2 separate regions of the Homo sapiens genome follow, and region 1 is linked to region 2. Evidence: promoter capture Hi-C in 16 types of primary human blood cells and fetal thymus (Javierre and others, 2016). All regions are on one chromosome and are shown on one strand. The core of a region is centred on a gene start or on the middle of the fragment in contact, and the rest is flanking DNA. Distances in the headings are between cores, read along the strand shown. Region 1 overlaps SLC10A6 (solute carrier family 10 member 6). Region 2 holds the start of PTPN13 (protein tyrosine phosphatase non-receptor type 13).

The links. The method cuts DNA at HindIII sites, captures the fragments that hold promoters and counts their contacts. A CHiCAGO score of 5 or more calls a contact.
Region 1: a fragment that was not itself captured here is called in contact with the fragment with the promoter of PTPN13 in region 2 in 1 of 17 cell types (megakaryocytes); the score reaches 5.9 in megakaryocytes.

What each region holds. Positions count from the first base shown.
Region 1 is chr4:86,821,341-86,826,000 of GRCh38, reverse strand. It overlaps SLC10A6 (solute carrier family 10 member 6), which reads left to right. Exons shown (of 6, transcript NM_197965.3): 5 at 424-581; 6 at 2,099-2,533. The coding sequence ends at 2,313. Among named protein-coding and RNA genes, the nearest start is that of SLC10A6, 26 kb to the left of the region's middle. The HindIII fragment of the contact is 3,092 bases long and covers 54-3,145 here.
Region 2 is chr4:86,591,197-86,595,865 of GRCh38, reverse strand. PTPN13 (protein tyrosine phosphatase non-receptor type 13) reads right to left here and starts at 1,551. Exons shown (of 48, transcript NM_080683.3): 1 at 1,077-1,551. It also overlaps a transcript of MAPK10 not described here. RefSeq lists an enhancer at 1,314-1,900. The HindIII fragment of the contact is 4,151 bases long and covers 1-4,136 here.

The sequences.
Region 1 (4,660 bases), core at 350-2,849, 230 kb before region 2:
ACACCTCTCCCTGGAACTTTAATTTTTATAATATTTCCCCCTCATCAAAAGCTTCTTCTATTTTTTTCCATCCTTAAATCCCACTCCTCTGTGAAGCCTTCTCTCACCCCTTCTGCCATTTTCTAAATTTCTACATCTGCGTGGCCTTTGGCCATACTTTGTCTTGTGTTGTTGCTGAACCTCTCCTGTGTGTTTATCTTGTCTTTTTACTCAGATGCCTAGGGCAGGGTTTGCAAAGCCTCACTCCACCGTGCCTCTCAGAAGACCACCTGCAGAATAGGCACTCAGCAAATAACTATGGAATGAGTACACATTTTCAGTGGCCTGAGGTCATAGCTTCTAATTGTTATGATGCATATGAGAAAATATTAGAATAGTTCTTATTGCTAGTGCGTTACTCTTGAAACATTTTCTTTTTGGTAGGTGCAGGACAATTTCCTTAGAAACTGGAGCTCAGAATATTCAGATGTGCATCACCATGCTCCAGTTATCTTTCACTGCTGAGCACTTGGTCCAGATGTTGAGTTTCCCACTGGCCTATGGACTCTTCCAGCTGATAGATGGATTTCTTATTGTTGCAGGTGGGTGAACACCCATTGGGTAGGAAATAACTGACGGGAAATTGTTCACCCCAACTTACCAACTTTTTTTTCAATCCAAACTTGCATGTGCTGCCCCTGTGATACACTTTTTGAAAGCCTGACATTTCTGGGGACGATAAGGCACATAGACAGGATAGTTTGGCGCACAAGTGGGAGTTTCACAGAAAAATATAAAAAGCCATCTGAAAATGAGCTTATAATTATAAACAAATATACTTCACAAAAGTGAATCCACTATCAGAACTTAGACTTCGTAACTTGTTAAGACAAGATCTCTATGAGCAATCATTGAGCTCCAAAGTGACATTTGCTGCACTTAAGCGTTGATTTGTTAGGTCTCATTAAAAGCCTTGAGGTCTCCCAAATGCCAAGTTATTTCAATGTTTCTGTGACTAAGACTTGTGCTGAATGGCTGTGAAATGTTTTTCAAATATTAAATATTACACATATACAAATATTGAAATATATATGTGTATGCACATGTGATTGCAGCCAAATATACATTACTTTGGAGTCTTTTATTATGTTTGTTCACAGAGGGTAAATTTAAAAATATATATAATGCAAGAACAGAAAACCAAATACCTCACTTACAAGTGGGAGCTAAACATTGGGTGCTCATGGACATAAAGATGGCAATAATAGAAACTGGGGACTACTAGAAGAGGGAGGGAGGGGGCGAAGGTTGAAAAACAAACTGTTGGGTACTGTGCTCACTACCTGCGTGATAAGATCATTTGTTTCCCAAACTTCAGCATCACACAATATACCCAGGAAACAAACATGCACATGGATCTAAAAGTCGAAAAAGAAAAAAAAAAATATATATGTTCACATACACATATATATTTTAATCTTGGGCCATGGTAAATTTTTGCTGCTGTTAGGGAATTGGGTCTGAGTAAGACTCAATGATTACTGATAGAACTGATTATATACTGATTGCTGATTGTTATTATTATATACTGATTACAGATATAACAATCAATATAACAATATCAGGAATACCTGGGGCTTAATTTCCCCAACAGATAAGATAAATCCTATTAGAGTCAAACTCTTGGTCTCAGACCCAAGTTTTCTTTCCTTCTCATGGAGAGACTGAAGCAAGCATCATTTCTGGCTCATTCCCAGCTCTAGCCCAGAACCCAGGAGAGTGTCCTACTTCTAGTAAGCACTCGCAGTATTTGCCAGCTGACTAGCTGAATGAGTGAATGAATGAATGAATGAATGAATGAATATATGAGTGTGTAAGCTGTCAGCAACCTGATGAATGAGCCTCAATCACAAATGGTTCATCCAGACAAAAGAGCCATTCTGATACACTGAATCCTTCTGTTCTATAGCTTTCTCTCTTTCCCCCTTCTTTTCCCTGGGTGTTTATACATACATGATGCCACTGAAACAAACACCTGAAGGATTGACAAGTGTACAGTGTCACCAAATTAGACTCTTTGTTAAAGTGATTGTTAATACTTGTATGTTTTAACACCTAGCATATCAGACGTACAAGAGGAGATTGAAGAACAAACATGGAAAAAAGAACTCAGGTTGCACAGAAGTCTGCCATACGAGGAAATCGACTTCTTCCAGAGAGACCAATGCCTTCTTGGAGGTGAATGAAGAAGGTGCCATCACTCCTGGGCCACCAGGGCCAATGGATTGCCACAGGGCTCTCGAGCCAGTTGGCCACATCACTTCATGTGAATAGCAGGGACTAGCTGGCTGGACTGGCCCCCTTCTTTTTCAGTGGCCAGTAAAGACAGTGTGCAGCTGACACATGAATCTTGTTGGTAGGGCCAGTGTGAATATTTAAGTGTTCAATGTTAGAATATTTATATTTTCATGTGGATTGTGAATTGTGATGGGATCACTTTTGGAGATTCCCATTTCAGGGAGTTTCTTCTGGGGGTTAACATAACGTATCAATGAGCTGCCTTGTATGTTCTTGTCTTCCCATGCAGCAAATAGTACCTGGCAGTAGGTAAAATCCTTCATTAGGGGAACTTATCCTTATGTTGTGGATTTTTTTTTTTTGAGACAGAGTCTTGCTCTGTTGCCCAGGCTGGAGTGCAGTGGCACAATCTCGGCTCACCACAACCTCCGCCTCCTGGGTTCAAGTGATTCCCTTGCCTCAGCCTCCCAAGTAGCTGGGATCACAGGTGTGTGCCACCATGCCTGGCTAATATTTTGTATTTTAGTAGAGATGGGGTTTCACCATGTTGGCCAGTCTGGTTTCGAACTCCTGGTCTCAAGTGATCTGCCCGCCTCAGCCTCCCAAAGTGCTGGGATTACAGGCATGAGCCACTGCGCCCAGCCACGTTGTGGATTTTAATTGAACAAGAGTTAGAACTCTAAGTAGAGGAGATGTCACCTCATACTGCAGGGTGACGCAGACCTATGTGACTTCTTGACTCTGGGCAGGTCCTCAGGTGCACTGAGAGGAGAACAAATAGCTCTTATAATAAATGGGGCAGTTTTCTCAAATGATTATTATTTTTAAGAAATTGAAAATCATTTTGATTATAGATGTAACACAAGCTTGGAAAGAATTTAAAACACACATACGGTTAAAAATGGAATGCCCTGTATTTTCACTTTCTAAAGATTGACACATGGTTGGGCACAGTGGCTCATGCCTGTAATCCCAGCACTTTGGGAGGCTGAGGTGGGCAGATCACCTGAGGTCAGGAGTTCAAGACCAGTCTGGCCAACATGGTGAAACCCCATCTCTACTAAAAATACAAAAATTAGCCAGTCATGGTGGCATGCACCTGTAATCCCAGCTACTTGGGAGGCTGTGGCAGAAGAATCACTTGAACCCAGGAGGCAGAGGTTGCAGTGAGCTGAGATCACGCCACTGCGCTCCAGCCTGGGTGACAGAGTAAGACTCTGACTCAAAAAAAAAAAGAAAGACCCATGTGTATCCTTCTAAGCTGTGTATGTAAACTGTATCATTTTAAGAACCTTGAGATCATTCCATATATTGTTTTGTAAGTCACTTGATGACACATTATGGAACATCTTTGAGTGTCAGTCTGTGTTGACCTACCTCATTCTTTAGTATAGTAGTGATGTGGAAGTATTCTATTGTGTGGAAGGACTGTAATTTATTTAACCACTCCTTATTCATGGACACTTAGATAGCTTTCAGCTTAACAGTATTACAGTGCTGTTACAAACACTTTTGCCTTTAGGTGCAAGTATTTCTGTAGGCTCACTTCCTGTGACTTGAATTTCCAAGCCAATTGCTTACCGAAATGTATGACAGATTGCTATCTGGCAACGTTGTACAGCAGTGCCTGAGAGGGCCTGGTTTCCCACAGTCTCACCAGTCAAATGAATGATCAATTTTGATTGGTTAAAACATCTCATTTAAAATTTCATTTAGGCTGGGCGCGGTGGCTCACGCCTGTAATCCCAGCACTTTGGGAGGCCGAGGCGGGTGGATCACGAGGTCAGGAGATCGAGACCATCCTGGCTAACACGGTGAAATCCTGTCTCTACTAAAAATACAAGAAATTAGCCTGGTGTGGTGGCGGGCGCCTGTAGTCCCAGCTACTCTGGAGGCTGAGGCAGGAGAATGGCGTGAACCCAGGAGGCGGAGGTTGCAGTGAGCCGAGATCATGCCACTGCACTCCAGCCTGGGCAACAGAGCGAAACTCCATCTCAAAAAAAAACAAAAAACAAAAAACAAAATTTCATTTAAAAACTGAATGAACTAAAGCATTTTTCACAATCACTTGGCAACTTATGTCCTTTGCCTGCTTTTCTATTGTATCTTTTCCTTTTTGATGTATAGATTTTGAACCATAATGATAAGTGACAATGTGTCCTATGTTTTGTCAACATTTTACCTACTCGTTTATCTTTTGTTACTCTATGTCTTTTGCAATACAGAGTTTTATTTTTTTAATATATTCAGCTTATTAATCTTATTAAGAATGTTTTTTTTTTGCTCTGATCTCTGCCAAATGTTAGCATATTTATATATTTGTGTGGATTGTGAATTGTGATAGAATCTTTTTTTGAGAATGTATTTGGCCCCTTTTCAGGGA
Region 2 (4,669 bases), core at 302-2,801:
GCACTTTTACTCCCCCCCCCATCCTTTAGTAAACTTTCTAGATATAAATTTTAAAATCTTAAAATTTATAATTAGTTACCAGCGCCCTTCATCCCACAGATCAGGTGTCCTACATTTTGTTCAGGTCCTGCCTTGAAAACAAACCCGATTGCCCCATTTTCTGCGAGGGAGCTCAGCTCCAGGCAGCTCCCTATGAAGTCACCGCGTTTGTTGTTTCAAAGATGCAATTAAATGAAAATGACACAAGGCTGTCGAACAGATTAGTTGGAAGTGTGCGGTGGTGTCGATCATATACGTGTATGGCCAATGAAAACTGTATTGCTGTAAATCTCTTAGTGATATTTCTCCCCATCCTCCTCTCTCCATTATATTCACAACAGAAGGAAATTAAACTTTGTAAGAATTTTCTTGACTTTGGTTTAACTTTAGCTTCCCAGCTGTCTGCTCTTACAGTATCACGTAATGAGCAAAGCGGTGGGGCTAGGGGGCCGGAGGGTAGAGTGTTAACTTTAGCAAGCAGAAGAAAAGCAATAAAAGACCTTGCATCAGACAGTGTCTCTCCCTCTGCCCCCTCTTCCTCTGCTTCCCCGCCATCCCACCCCCTTCTCGAGCCCTTACACACACATTCTTCTGGGCGGCCTCTAACCACACCATCTCCACAATCATTTGCAGAAATTAGAAACAGACTCCGGGAGCCCTTCCCTTAAGCACGCACAGAGCGGAGCTGTGCAAGCACGACGGGGCAATGTCACTCCCTATTACCCCACAATCTCTTACTCCCCCTGTGGGTTTCATTCCCGAGAATCCGGCTTTCTTCCGCAGAGGAGATGGATCTACCTAATTAGCAATGGAGTTTCATCTCATTCTTCCCCACTCCAGTCACCCCACCCCCACTCTAACGTACAAAAACACCCACCACCAAAACCAAAGAAAAGTTCCTTCTACCAGGGCAACCGAGGAGTTGGGTTTAGGGACTGGAGCGAAAGCAGAGAGAGGAGGAAGAGAACGAGCGCAATGTACTTTGTTTTGCACTTCTGCACATGCAGCGCAGAGCCCAGGGCGGCTCTCGTCCTTACCGGCTGGTCCCGAGACCGGGTCCTGCTACTGGAGCGCCGGGCGAGGGCTGCAGGGACGCGGCGTCGGGGCGGGCCGCCGGCAGCCGCCGCGGGCGCCGAGAGCCACCACCACTTCTCCCACAAGCGGCTGCGGGCGTGGGCTGAAGGAGCTGTAGAAGGAGCCTGGGGAGGGGGAGAAGAGGAGCAGCATCTCCTCCTCCTCCTCCTCGCCTCGGAAACGCTCCCCAGCGGCGATCCCGGCCGACTGCCTGACCCCCGAGCGCTCAACGCACCCCCGCCGCCCTACTGTGCTCGACGCCTCTCCAAGAGCTTCGCCAAAACCTTCTGGCGCGGGCGGCTCAACTCCTGTAGGCGACTCTGACCGCTGCCGAGGCGGACCGGGGAGCTACGGAGCACGGCTCGCCAGCACGACGGTCTCCAGGGGCCGTGAGCATGGTGTGTCACCCTCGCCTCAGCGTGGCCGCTGGAGCTACTCGCACCACTGGGGCTCCACCTCGGGCAGCCGCGCCGGCTCCGCCCCCCCGGTCCTGTCACTCAACCATTCCCCGGCACTGGGAGGACCGCAGATCTCCCACCCCGAGCTCCCCTCGACCTCATTGGCCCGCCTGGCATCCAGCTCCACCTCCTCCCTAGGGACGAGGTCGCCAGGGAGACCAGCGCCCCGGTTGCCATGACAACCAGTGCCTTGGGCCTGGCTTTTCGCGTTCTTCGGACTAGCCAGAGGCTCAGGTTGGTGACCGAGCGGCAGAGTTCCTAGCGCCTGCAGTGTGGTGAACTCCAACTTTTAGGCCAAGTTGAAAATGCAGCCGACGACCCCCACACTTCTAACTTCAGAATCAAAACTATGACCCTAGGGAGTGAGGAGGAGAGTGAAAAATGCGTAAGTGCTGGCTCCTCCCTTACTCTTCGCTGCCTCTCAGCCTTGTTTCTATATTCTCACGGGGCGCTTTGGTCTTTGAAAGGAAGAGGAGAATGGGGGAGAGGAAGAGCATGGCTTTGCCAGCTCCTTGCAGCAATATAGCAACTTAGAAATGGCGGGGTCAACGAAAAAAGCCCGGTGAGTTTTCCCACGGTTGTAAAGCTATCTTCAAAAGTGTGGTGACAGCACAACGCCAAATGCCCTAGGGAAAACTGAAATTCTCATATTTTTGAAAAAAGTTTGTAAATACTTGCCTTGTTATTTTATCTATGAGACTAAAATAATCCCGAAGTTTGAAAATTTAAGGAAAAGGTTTAACATAGTCGATAACCTCCCACTTTTCTATATACACTGAAATTTGGCCAAGGTATATCCAGACAGCTGTACCCCTCCTTGCTGCAAGCCGAAATATTTGAGTTTCAATAGTTAAACAAGAGAGTCTTGCTGAATTCATGAACAAATAATATCCTGTGATTTGAGTTTTGAAAGTTTTGGGTTATTCTCAGAGGTATAAGGTAAACTGGTCCACTCTGGAAAGGGTACCTGAAGATAAATTTAGTCTGAGACCCTTAATGTTGAGCCCTAGGTAAATCTGAATTTCATGGCTGGCTCCAAAGTGGAGAGATCTGAGGCTTATTTGGCTTCCCCAAAAAAAGTCAAAGCAGCAATCCTAGGTTCCCTAGCCCCTGAGGCTGCCATACATGTATGATGAATGAGGGAATTAATAGTAATGATTTATCTTTGGCGAGCACTTGAGTTTTCATTATATCATTTACTAAATGAATAACTATGATAGATATCTTCAGTCAAATATGCCTTACAAGTATGCATTGAATGTGATTACTCATAGGGCTAAACACAACGGAAAATACACAGCAGGATTTTAAGCTAAGTCCCCGCTCCCAAGGAGCTAACCTGGAGCCTAAGAAAGAAAACTAGCACTCTTGAAACAATTTGAGAACAATTATAGCTAAAATGTGCAGCCAAACTTTGAGTAGGTAGCAGCTAAGAGAAAGTTTGCTATGTAAAATGGGCTGGATTCCTCAGTTTATGGAAGAGGGGAATTTACACTGGGCTTTGATGAATGCAGCAAAGATGAGGAAAGTCAGTTGAGGGGAACAACAAAAACTAAACAGCAGCAGCAGGGATAAGTGGTGAAAGTAAATAACAGGCCAGGCTCCTTGGATGGGAAACACAAGTGGATGATTGGAGCCCTTTTCTCAGTTCTTCCCCCATTTTTAAATGTTCTGGATCATCTATCAGGGAGGTAGGAAAGGCAGGTTGGGAAGAACAGAAACTTTCATGAAACATCTGTCTCTGTTTGCCTCTGAAAGAAAGTTCATGTATTTATTGGAAAGAAAAGCAATATCCTTAATTAATGGCTGCAATAGCTTGTGGATTCACATCAGAAAGAAGGTATAGCAAGTATAGTGTTGTAAATTTCCGCAAAAGTAGACAAACCACAGTGTTGTTAGCTTTTTTCCTTTTCTTTTTCTTCTTCGTGTTTTTTTTTTTATTAAGGCCATTTCAGGTGGTTGCCCTCAAGGCATTTTCACCAGTAATCCCTCTGTTTTGGATGAGCTGAAAGACTGGTTTTAAAATACAATCTGTTAAAAAGTACACACAAGGGAAATCTACAGGTTAAATTCCTTTTGGATATAATGTAAAAGTCAATACTAACAAATGGAACCCAGCACTACATTACAAATAATATAACAAAATTAAGAGAAATTATTTCATGTGTATAGTTATGGCAATAGTTCAATAACAGAAAATTTTCTCATATGCTTGATTATATTAGTAAGTCAAAGGAGGAAAACATTATGAGGATCTCAGTTGATGCTGAAAAGGATTTTGTAAAGTCCAGCATCATTCCCAATAAAAATTAGAATTTGTAATAATTTAAATATATATATATGTTATACTAAAGCCAGCCACTTCCTTTATAACATAACATCATAATTATTCCTATTGAAGTCAAGTACAAGGCAAGAATGTTCACCATCACATTGTAACAATAGAAACGATAGCCAATGCAATTAGATATAAAATAGAAATAAGAAATTAAGTACTGTAAATAAGTCAGGGTTGTCATTTGTTTGCAAATAATATGAAAACTCCAAAGCATCAACTGAAAAGCTTTTAGAGGCAATAAAAGATAAATTAAGATAACTAGTTATAAAATTAACATACGGGGGGTGGGGCACAGTGGCTTATGCCTGTAATGCCAACACTCTGGGAGGCTGAAGTGGACAGATCACTTGAGTCCAGGAGTTCAATACCAGTCTGGGCAACATGGTGAAACCCTTTCTCTACAAACAATAAAAAAGTTAGCCAAGCATGGTGGGATGCACCTGTAGTCCCAGGTACTCTGGAGGCTGAGGTGGGAGGATTGCTTGAGGCCAGGATGTCGAGGCTGAAGTGAGCCATGATCCCACCACTGCACTACAGCCTGGGCAACAGAGTGAGATCCTGTCTCAAAAATAACAATAATAATAATAATAAAAAAACATATGAAAATCAAGAGCTTTCTCATGTATTATCATAACCAATTTGAAAATACAATATAAAAAGAATCCATCCCACTTACAGTAGCCACAGAAATTTAAGTAGCTAAAAATAAACACTAAAATAAATTTATAAAACTGGCTGGGCATGGTGGCTCACGCCTGTA